Regions from separate parts of the Homo sapiens genome. Here region 2 is linked to region 1. The links are contacts of gene promoters, found by promoter capture Hi-C in human tissues and cell types (Jung and others, 2019). All regions are on one chromosome and are shown on one strand. The core of a region is centred on a gene start or on the middle of the fragment in contact, and the rest is flanking DNA. Distances in the headings are between cores, read along the strand shown. Region 1 holds the start of ZNF502 (zinc finger protein 502). Region 2 overlaps ZNF35 (zinc finger protein 35).

Region 1 (5,818 bases), core at 3,093-5,592:
AAAATGAAGAAAAACAAGCTTTAAAAAAGTATTTTTCAGTTATATATCAAGGGATAGACAGACCTAATAAAGACTTCTTACAAATGAGTAAGAAAAAAAGATGAACTGAGAGAAAAATGGAAAATACAAAAAATACACCAAGAATTACAACAGGCCAGTAAACATATCAAAACAATGTTCCATCTTTATGGTAAACAAGGAAATGGAAACTGAAAGAATGAAGAATCAATTTTTACATCAAACTGGAAAATCTATCTTTAATGCTACACTCAAGATTCACAAAGGTACAGGGAGTTTCTCACATACCGGTGCGAATGTAAGTTGGTACCATCTTTCTGGAGCTAATCTGGCAATATACATCAGGTGTGAAAGTTGTAGCTTCAGTTATAGTTAGGATGCTGTGATCAACATTTTGTGGATACAGGAATTCAGAACAGAATGCTCATTTTGTATATACACCACCTGTAGTGTACCTCAGAGTCATCAGTATGCCATAAAAAATGACTATATTCGGCTGGGCGCAGTGGCTCACACCTGTAATCCCAGCAGTCTGGGAGGCCAAGGCAGGTGGATCACCTGAGGTCAGGAGTTCGAGACCAGCCTGCCCAACATGGTGAAACCACGTCTCTACTAAAAAATACAAAAAATTAGCCGGGCGCAGTGGCAGGCACCTGTAATCTCAGCTACTCAGGAGGCTGAGGCAGGAGAATTGCTTGAACCCAGGGGGCAGAGGCTACAGTGAGCCGAGATCACGCCACTGCACTCCAGCTTGGGCGACAAGAGCGAAACTCCGTCTCAAAAAAAAAAAAAAAAGACTATATTCTTTGACCTAGTAATTCTACAAATAGAATTTTCTCAGAAAGAAGTAAATTTCCAGAGAGAAGAGAAACAGAATTCTTCTGTTACTTGTAAAAATATCCCCTGAAATGTACATGGAAATAAAAGTTTTTCTACTGGTGGACACTGAGGATTAGCAAATTATGGTACTTCTAGTTGGTGAAAATTATTTAGGCATTAAGATCATTAAAAATGAAAATATGTGTTTATTGGGAAAAATATTTATGCCATATGTTGAAAAAATCCAGTATAGTAAAATTTCAAGTAGTAATATAATGTAAAATATATGTTTGTTAAAATATACATGTGTCGTGCTTGTGGTTTCAGCTACTCAGGAGGCTGAGGTGGAAGGATCACTTGAACATGGGAGGTAGAGGTCGCAGTGAGCTGTGATAGCACCATTGCATTCCAACCTGGGTGACAGAGTGAGATCCCTCTCAAAAATTAAAAATTAAAAATACATCTGAATAAGATCAAGAAGGAAAAATAATCATCACTGTGGTAAAATAATGAATTGTGAATAATTTCCTCAAATGTCCTCTATTATCTATATTTTGCTCCACTTTAAAAAAAAAACAAATCTATAAGAATATATAACAAATTATTTATTGTGATCATATCTGAAGAATAAAATTATGGTAAACTTTTGCCTTAAGGCCTATCTTTTTGTAATGTTTGAAAATTTTCCCATAGGAATAACTAACTTCTGTAATCAAAGAAAAAGTGAAAAAGCATAATCAGAGATGGCCAGAGATTTATGTACAAAGATCACACTATTACTACAATTGTTAAATAAACAGGCAAATAAACATTGATAGACTAGCAAAGATAGCTTATGAAGGTATCAAAAATCATAATTTCAAAGAATATTCATGAGAAAATATAATATGTTAAAACAGGAAGATACAAAACACTAAAAAACAAGAAATATGCACACATATACTGGCATTAAGCACTCAATAAACAGAAACTATTGTTAATAAACAGATAAAACACACACATTTAAAAAAGACATAAAGAAAACCCACCAAAATATTAACACATTTATCTCTAGGTCAGTTAATGGGTCACTTTAGTTTGTCCTTTATACTCTTCTATATTTTTACTTCTCCTTCAATAAACATATATTACTTTTATAGGTAGAAAAAGTTACTTTTTAAAAACCCAGAAACAAAAACAAAAACAAAATGCCAGATCCAATGGCTATGGTATTGGCCTCCCATTCACAAGATGATAGTAGACTGGATTGGGACTCAGGAAAGTTTGCTCTGCCAATAGCCCATGTGAGTGGGCCTACATGACAGGCTATTTATCTGAAAAGGGTGACAAATTAGACAATATTTACGGGTCATTCCAGCTCTGATAATCTGTGAATCCTTGATGAGTTAATTCACATAAAGCATTCAAAAAGATATCTACTCGATGGCAGGCACTCAACAGGGGTTAGATGCTATTATGGTTGATACTAAAACCTACGGAGAAAGAAAGACATCTTGGTGATGACCACATCCTTCCAATCATGGATCATCTGAGCTGTCAGCAGTTTGTCAATGTCAAGGGTCAGCAAACATTTTCTGTAACAGGCCAGAAAGCAATTTTTTTTAGGTTTAATGGGTTAAATGGAAAATATAGTCTCTGTCTCAACTATTCAACTTTGCCTTTGTAGTCTGAAAACAGAAACAGACAATATGTACTGAATGAGCTTGCCTGTGTTTTAATAAAACAGTTTTACCAAAAAAAGTGGCAGACCAAATTTGGTCCATATTTGCTGACTCCTAGGTCTATAAGTTGCCCAGAAAGTAATGTACAGGTGCTTCTACAAATGCCTATTGTGGAATAATCTGGCTGTTAGTGATTTTAAGATGCTAAAAAGATCCCTCTGCAGATCTGGGGAAAGCTGAGTATTATGGTGAAAGGTAAAAAGGAAACAGGCTCTTAATAGCCCTATCCTGCTAACCTATTAGAGAGCTGGCTTCCTCCCTCTACCTTGTAAGCTTTTCCCCAGATGCCACCTCCTTACCCCTCAATAATTAGCTAAAAGAATCTAAGCAAGCTAGATGAAGTTTTTCAAGAATTTTTAACAATCCCTCCAACGAGACCACATTGAAATGTACTCCTCTCTGAAGCCCTTCTTGGTCTGCATTTTGGCACCAAACAGTGCACTCACCCAAGCTGTGGCAGTACACTTTATCTCTTATGCAGCCTTGGGTCACTTAGCAATGTGATCTGGGACAAGTTTTCTGTTCTCTCTGTACCTCAGTTCCCTCACTTAAAAACTACACATAGGCCTGGCGCGGTGTTTCACGCCTATAATCCCAGAACTTTGGGAGGCCAAGGCGGGTGGATCACTTGAGGTTGGGAGTTCGCGACCAGCCTGACCAACACTGTGAAACCCCGTTTCTACTAAAAATACAAAATTAGCCAGGTGTGGTGGCGCATGCCTGTAATCCCAGCTACTCGGGAGGCTGAGGCAGGAGAATCGCTTGAACCCGGGAGGCAGAGGTTGTGGTGAGCCCAGATCACCCCGTTGCACTCCAGCCTGGGCAACAAGAGTGAAATCCCGTCTCAAAAAAAAAAACAAACCAAAAACCAAAAAACAAAACTGTACACGCAATACGCTGTTGTGAAGATTAAATCAATTAGCACAAATGCTTCAAATAGTGCCTGGTATACAGTAAGTGCTAAATAAATGTAGTTTAAAATATTACCACCAAAATCTGCTTATGCCCTTATCGTCCTAAACAAGACTGGAAGCATCTTTACATGTGGCAGTCTCCGATGTCACTCTTTTGTAGCCTAGCCACTAAATTCGGGGTAATGTTTGGCATATAATGGATAGTAATCCTTCATTGGGAGGCATTAAGGTTTGCATACATGCTATCACATACAAGCTGTCAACTGAGCTTTGTGAAGAAGCAAGGAACAGACTTCTAGACAGTACTTTAGAGATTTCTGTACCCTCCAGAATTGTAACTCAGGTCTCAAGACTCCCAACGAGTGCACTTTACGCTATTTGCCGTCTCCTATAAAAACAGGCTCTAAACAAGTTTCGGAGCTACAGGATCAGCCGGGGGAAGAAACTGGTATCTGATCCCCAGGACCTCGTTTCCTGACATGGGTCCTAGGTCTGTCTTGATCATCTATCCATCACTCATTCACTCATTCATTCATTCACTCCGCCATTTTCCTAGGCATCTCCTCTGTGCCGGGCACTGTGCTGGGCCTTGGAGTCTGCAGTGCTGAGGCTGCAGGCTGGGCGGGCCGAGCCGCTAGGAGTGCCCTACGTCCGGGCAGCACGCGTAGGCAGCAACGTGGAGAGGACCGAGGCCGGGGCTGACTTCCCAGATAACCCTCCAGCCCGCCGCCCCAGCAATGGCTCGCCGGGGTCCTCTCTTTTCCCCTCCCTGGGTCCCAACTCGCTCACTGTGAGATCCACGGACTCTCCGCGGAGCGGCGCAGGCGCTCCCAGAGGTGGACTGGGGCCAGGACACCAGCCTTAACTTCTGAAACCGGAAGAATGGTGGCGCGGCCGGTAGTGCGTCAGCAGCGAGCTCGCGCATCCATTCTCTGATTCTCTAGGAAGCGGGAGGAACATCTCTATGGGACCCTAGAAGAAGGCATTCCCTCCAAACCCAGCCTGTAACTCCAGCTTTGTTTCCCGCCAAGCCCAGCCTGTAACTCCAGCCTTGCTTCCCGTCAAGCCCAGTCGCGTTCCTGATATCCCATTAACAACTATCTTGGCCTGAAACACAGTGGCTACCTCAACCCTCAGGAAAACTGTAGAGGGAGACGTTAGGGATGGAAAGGATGCTGGGTAGGAGCCGGAATGGGCCATCTCAACAAGAAACTAGTATATTCTACCTGCTTAAAATAGTCTCTATTAAGAACCTTGAGTGATCCCCTGTTATGTTAGAATAAAGGACAAACTCCCAATCTAGGCCCACACAAACTGACCTCAATATCAACATCTCTTATTTGGCTATCATATACATTCTGCTCTAAAGTTACTGAATTCCCATTGGCCCCCTGAAATCCCTTGCCTCTTCCTGACTCTAGATCTTTTTCCCAGGATTTTCCCTTTGGAATACTCTCCCTTCCTTCTACCTGCTCTCCCTAACCTCAGCTATCCAATTTATCCTGGTTCTTCAAATCCCAATGCCAATTCTCACTTGACCACCTAGACTGTTGCCCTTATGGGTCTTTACACTCACATATCACTATTAGTTATTCTAGCTCTAGCTAGCCTTCTATTCAGTGCCCCCCTAAATGCATACACTTGTATTTCTTTCGTAGGTATTGTTAGGAAGATACACACAAGTAGCATCCCACCCAAGGACAACTGTGAAAGACCCAATCAGTTCATTTTTATACAACTCTAATCAGCTATATGGAGCTATTATTTATCATTATATCTCAATGTTTAGCACAATGATTGGTAGAGAAGGCATTCAATAAATACTTGTTGAATTCGTTAATCAGAAACAGGTGAAATTTAGATTATTGGCATTTTTGATAAACTGAAAAATGAGGATACCATAGATTAAATCCAGAAAGCAAGCTCTCTGCACATCTGAAAGGATGTACCACGTAGCTGGCATATTCCCGTTTCTTTGGCTCACTCTATCCAATTGTTATCTCCCTTGGTAGAATGTAAGCTGTATGAAGGCAGGGGCCTTCTCTGTTTCATTCATACTATATCCCTAGCACCTAGAGCATGGCTGACATACTAGGCATTCAATCAGTATTTGATGAATGACTAGGTCACCATCAACTTCCAACAAGTTACAGGAAATAGTTACTCCACATAGATGTATACTGCTTGTTTGAGAGCTAAAACTGCTGGAAAATTATCTTTCTTCCCCCAGATTACCTAAAGTGTACATTCCAGAGATGAATGTTGCTTCCCTGTGAGAAATAGAAACTCCTTCTAAATTATATTTACCTGACCCCCACCAAAAGAGATTATATGAAGGTATTTTCC
Region 2 (5,818 bases), core at 1,285-3,784, 51 kb after region 1:
TGTATGTATTGTCTTCAGGAAGCCTGCATAACCTCCAAGTAAGCACAAGATTTAATCTGCAACGTACACTTCTTAGGGGAAGAGGATCCATAATCTTCCCAGGATTCCCAAAGGGGCTGCAACCCCAGAAAGGTTGCAGTGCCTACAATGGATGAGCAAGTGGAGAGGTGACAGACGTGGGAGAGGGACAACTACCTGAGACAGGGAGGGGATACAGAGCAGGTGAACAATTAGCTTTGTCCAAAGACACCTCTTCCTAAGCCTGGTGGAATTTATGGCTGTGTTTGAGTGTGTAACTTCGTGTTAGGGATTGAAGTCTTTCTCCTGTGCTCCCAGAGTACTGTACGTGATTTCGCCATCAGTTTTGCATCACTGTGCTCCACTTAATACATATCTGTTGGTCTCATTTGAGGATGAGGACAGATTTCCTGGCCCTACTCTTAATGCCAATCACTAGGCCTGCAACAGAGCTCTTAGCCTGACAGCTAAAAGTCTGATAGCTCTCAGCAACTTGGGAAAATGGGGCTTCAGAGTTCCCAACCACTCCTAGCAAGACTACCCAAAAAAGATGGGAGATGAGCCCAAAGAATAGGAAACTAAGCAAACTGACAAAAGGTGGTCACTCCTCCCTTATAAAACATAAAGAAAATGGCAGGCTGCAATTTATTTTGAGGACTGGAATCAGAAGGCAGAGTTATTAGCTGGGGAAGGATCTGATCTGTCTAGTAATCAATCCACTTGGCTCATATGATTTGTGCAGAATCAGAGGCCCTGAACCTGGATGCAGATTTGTGGAAACTGAGATCTGAAGAGGAAATCCAAGTAGAAATGTAAAAAGTCATAATACATACCAAAAGCATGTTATGTAAAACTTGGTTTGCTCATATAAATGTTTGGTATATTCACTTAAATACAAATAAAATAAGCTAGGTGGCAGAATCCTCTAACATCCAATGGTTGGCAGAGGCACTGATGGACACCTAGTTCAGCTAGTGTAAAGTAAGTCTCCTGTTCTGCTAAAAATACATAGAATGCTTTGCACGTACAGATCCTTATACTGGAGCACCCCCACCCCCTCCACCTTTGATCACACACATTCTTGGCCTGCAGCCTTTACTTTTTGCTACAGTGGCTCATAACCTTTGCTTGTCATTGTAATCCCCTCCAGAGTTTTAAAAAATACAGAGGTCTAGAAATGGAAATTTTAAAAAAGTGCCCAATGTGATTCTAACATGAAGCCAAGGTTTAAAACCACTGCTTTACTGCAAGGTTGGGTCAGTGAATCTCAAACCTAGTTTTGCATCATAATCCCCTGCGTAGCTTTTCTGAACTACCTATGAGTGAAAATCACAATCATCCATAACTGAATATTATGAGGATAAACATATGTGATGGTAGAATGGTTTAACTGTCTTAATGGTCATAAATCCCAGCAGGTATTCTTTAAGCAAAGTAGTTTCTGTCTCTTGGTGGGTCAAGGTCACAGAGTTTTCTCAAATCTTCAGACCTGCTCTCCTGATATTCTCAGCTTCCTGATAAGGCAGGGGGAAAAAACTAACTTGTTCCTACTCTCAGCAGAGACAGGGGGTGGTTTATTTGGGTCTCTCCATTCCATCAGGGAGACTGGAACAGTCACTGTTAGGATTGGTGAGGGCATGAGTATTTGATCCTACTTTTGAATCCTTTTGATTTCTTGTATTTGTGTCTCTATGATTTAGAGTGAAACTGGGAAAGTAAGTTGCATATGTTTTGGAAAAAAAACTAGAGGAGGGAGGAAAAAGGAAATTAATAAGCTTTCTTGTGTATGCCTTCTGTATGTGAAAGTGCACTGTAGGCCAGGCATGGTGGCTCGTGCCTGTATTCCTGACACTCTGGGAAGCCGAGGCAGGTGGATCACCTGAGGTCAGGAGTTTGAGACCAGCCTGGCCAACATAGTGCAACCTCGTCTCTACTAAAAATACAAAAAAGGCTGGGCGCAGTGGCTTACTCCTGTAATCCCAGCACTTTGGGAGGCCAAGGCAGGTGGATCACGAGGTCAGGAGTTCAAGAGCAGCCTGACCAACCCCACTGCTACTAAAAATACAAAAATCAGCTGGGGGTGGTGGCGTGCACCTGTAATTTCAGCTACTCAGGAGGTCGAGGCAGGAGAATCACTTGAACCCGGGAGGCGGAGGTTGCAGTGAGCCAAGATCGTGCCACTGCACTCCAGCCTGGGCAACACAGCAAGGCTCTGTCTCAAAAAAAAAAAAAAAAAAAAATTGGCCAGGCGTGGTGGCATGCACCTGTAGTCCCAGCTACTCGGGAGACTGAGGTAAGAGAATTACTTGAACCTGGGAGGCAGAGGTTGCAGTGAGCCAAGATTGTGCCACTGCACTCCAGCCTAAGACTCCATCTCAAAAACAAAACAAAACTAACACACAAAAGAAGTGCTCTGTAAACTAGAAAACACTATGTGATTAATATTTAGTCTTGCAGAAATGTGATAATAAATGCATGGGACTTCTGCATGAGAGCTGCATCAGGCTCAGCATTTATGATAAATGCTCTTGCATGCCCTGAGGCATTGGAACAGCATGGAGGGACAGAGCCAGAAATCAGGAGACCCAAATTCTAGTCTTAGGTTTGCTGATTTCTGGTCACAGTGCCTAAGGCACACTCCAAACATCTGTCACATCAGCTTCCTCACCTGAAAAATGGGACTACACACCCCTTTCTTTGTCTCCCCTACAGGTCTGCATGGGGATTACAGGTGTTTGGCAAGTGGCATGGCAGAACAGAGAATCTAGATTCAGGACCTGGACTTGGATATAAGCTGTCACTTGTTACTTGGCCTTGCACTAAATGACCATTCTCAGGTAAATGGGCAACCACCTGTTTCAGTGTTGTAAGGACTGAGGTAGGTGATCTATGTGAAAGCGTGAGATACGTGCCAGGTATCATGATCAATACATAAGGGTACACAACAAAGAATAAAAGTTCTATATAAATACAAGGCAATATTATTACATAACTCTACCTATTGCATAGTTTTATAAATCATTTTTCCAGGAGTAAAGGCTGAATGGTAACAAAGATATCTTACCTTGGCCAGTTTCTTCATCCTTCTAAAAGTTTTTCATATTCCAATACCTCTGAATTTCTCAAAAAATCAAATTAAGACCTTAGGAATCTTATTTCCACCTCCCCTCTCCCATCACTTTCCCTCTTTGGTCTTCTCAGAATGAGAAGAGCTCCACTATTTCTTCTAAACACCATCCAGAATGTGAGAATGAAACCCAAACTGAGACCCCTGGCTGGACTTGAGCAGAATGACAGCAGAGACAACTGGGGCATGCCTCTAGGCAAGCTTTATTCTTTGACTCCTTCATCCAGGAAGGGGCTGTTAGTTGCATCTCACCCAAATGGAATGCGATGGGAATTGGGGGCTTGAGTTGTTTGGAGAAGGAGCTGTTGATCTTGGCAAATGAATATAGCTGGTGTGTGGTGTCCATCAATCCTTGAGTGCTTGGCCATGGAGACTAGGGAATGGTCAGAACAGACCCAGAGGTCCCCAGATCTTTACAATACCAAGGTTCAGGAGGTATAGACAGTAAGGAAAAAGTCCATTTCCTATTTCTGTCCATTTTCAGTAAAGTTTTTGTTTTGACTGGCTTTTAAAAAATTACCTAGGAAATGGAAAGCTTATAAACATTCGTAAGTGAATTGTTGAACTGCTACCCCAAGTGGTTTCCTTACCCAGTCACCACTTAACCAGAAATATTAGAATACACGGTTCAACCAGAATTCAACCAGGCAGATAACCTGCCTGTTGCTCAAGCAATCATCAGAGTTTTAAAAAACAAAATTAAGCAAAAAAGACCTTTCCCCAAATAGCATCATTACCACTTAGCTTTGTACGACCCATTCCTAGGAAAGCCACATTCCACTTCAGAGAACATGACCGCTTAAGGTACAGTTAAAACAAAGTCCTTGCCTTTAGGTGCTTACTTTTTGTTTTAAATTAGCCTCTGAAATGCTTTTCTTGTGTCTTCTGCTGCATTCCTGAAAACTATAACTTTTAAGGACACAGCCCTCACTTTTATAGAGGAGGAAGAAAACAGCAAAGAGGTGTCTCATTAGGGAGGCAGAAGGTTATGACCAATGCTGGAGGTCTTCCTCTTCCTTACTTGTTATTCAACAAGATGGGTTCTATGGTGTCGCATGAGGTGTGAGTTGGAAATGAAAGCTGCACCACACTTCTCACATTCATAGGGCTTCTCCCCAGTGTGGGTTCTCTGGTGCACGGTGAGGCTCGACCTCTGTCTGAAGGCCTTCCCACACTCATTACATGTGTAAGGTTTTTCTCCATTATGAATTCTCTGATGAATAAGTAGGTATGAGCTACATGTGAAGGCCTTCCCACATTCATTACACACGTAAGGAAGATCTCCACTGTGAATTCTCTGGTGGACAATAAGGCAAGAGAGCTGACTGAAGGCTTTCCCACATTCGCTGCAGTCGTAAGGTTTCTCTGCAGTGTGAATTCTCTGGTGCACAATAAGGTGTGAAAAACAACTAAAGGCTTTCCCACACTCTTTACACTCATATGGCTTCTCACCAGTATGGCTTCGCTGATGTACAATAAGATTTGCACTCTGGGTAAAGGCTTTGCCACAGTCGTTACAGGCAAAGGGCTTCTCCCCAGTGTGGATCCTCTGGTGGACAATGAGGTTTGAGCTCCTAGTAAATGTTTTCCCACATTCATTACATTCATAGCATTTTTCCGTAATGTGGACTTTCTGGTGCCGAGCAAGTTGTGAGCTGTAACTAAAGGCTTTCTCACATTCATTGCACTTAAAAGTTTTTTCTAAGGAGTGGATTTTTTGATGTACAGTCAGATTTGAACTCTGAGTGAAGGCTTTCCCACATTTTGAGCAAACATAAGGTTTCTGTCCAGTGTGGATTCTCTGATGCACAACGAGGTTTGCACTCTGAATGAAGGCCTTCCCACACTCATGACATTCAAAGGGTTTCTCTCCAGTGTGGATTCGCTGATGCACAACGAGGTTTGCACTCTGACTAAATCCTTTCCCACACACGCTACACGTAAAAGGCTTTTGTCCAAGCTGGGTTTTTGGATTTTTAACAGCGCCAGAATTAAGGCTATATTTTCCTCCAGATTTCTTACATTTCTGGTTTTCCTCTTCTTTGAAGCTTTCAGGTAAGTGACAGTCATTCACTATCACTTGTCTGAAATCTTTCTTTTCTCTCTTTATTCTCTGCCTCTTTAACATGTTTCCCTTTTCACAAGCTTCTCCTAACTCAGGTCCTTGAGGATCAGCTTTCTGGATTCTTTCTGATATGATGAGGGGTTTTTCAGCTTCCTCACATATCTCAGTTTTTGGAACCAGTAACTGTAGGTTCTTGGTTTCAGCACCTGAACCAAGAAACAGAAAATACAAATGTTAGCTTTCTCTGGCCTAGAAAAAGAATAGGATCATCAAGTCATAAAACGAAGTATGTGATTTCAGCACCTCCACAAAATGGCTTCATCAAAGAAGAGAATCCCATCACATGTTACCTCTCCTCTCTAGGTTCTTCAGCTGGGGCTTTGCCCTCCCCTCTACCTATGGCAGAACCCACTGACTCGTGGTCTTTCCAGCACTTCCACTTGCCTCCATTAGACACTTAACCCCGCTGCCCGCTGCCTCATGCCAGGGAGGGCCAATCTCCAGACAGTGCTCCTGCTGGCTGTATGATGACTGCCCTTGCAACAAAGACCAGTTATGAAGGACACAAGCCTCTCCCTAGGCTTGCCTTCTTACCTTAGCTACTTAGT

Evidence for each region. The method cuts DNA at HindIII sites, captures the fragments that hold promoters and counts their contacts. A contact is called where the count stands out against the background at its distance.
Region 2: a contact is called between a fragment that was not itself captured here and the fragment with the promoter of ZNF502 in region 1, in 1 of the 25 tissues and cell types used here (pancreas).

Annotation. Positions count from the first base shown.
Region 1 is chr3:44,711,184-44,717,001 of GRCh38, reverse strand. ZNF502 (zinc finger protein 502) reads right to left here and starts at 4,342. Exons shown (of 3, transcript NM_001134442.3): 1 at 4,262-4,342. LOC105377056 (a long non-coding RNA gene) reads left to right here. Exons shown (of 3, transcript XR_940788.4): 3 at 1,165-1,485. The HindIII fragment of the contact is 6,909 bases long and covers 1,426-5,818 here.
Region 2 is chr3:44,658,299-44,664,116 of GRCh38, reverse strand. It overlaps ZNF35 (zinc finger protein 35), which reads right to left. Exons shown (of 4, transcript NM_003420.4): 4 at 3,326-5,416. The coding sequence ends at 4,170. It overlaps ZKSCAN7-AS1 (ZKSCAN7 ZNF cluster antisense RNA 1), which reads left to right. Exons shown (of 3, transcript NR_157564.1): 2 at 2,731-2,855. Among named protein-coding and RNA genes, the nearest start is that of ZNF35, 12 kb to the right of the region's middle. The HindIII fragment of the contact is 3,806 bases long and covers 632-4,437 here.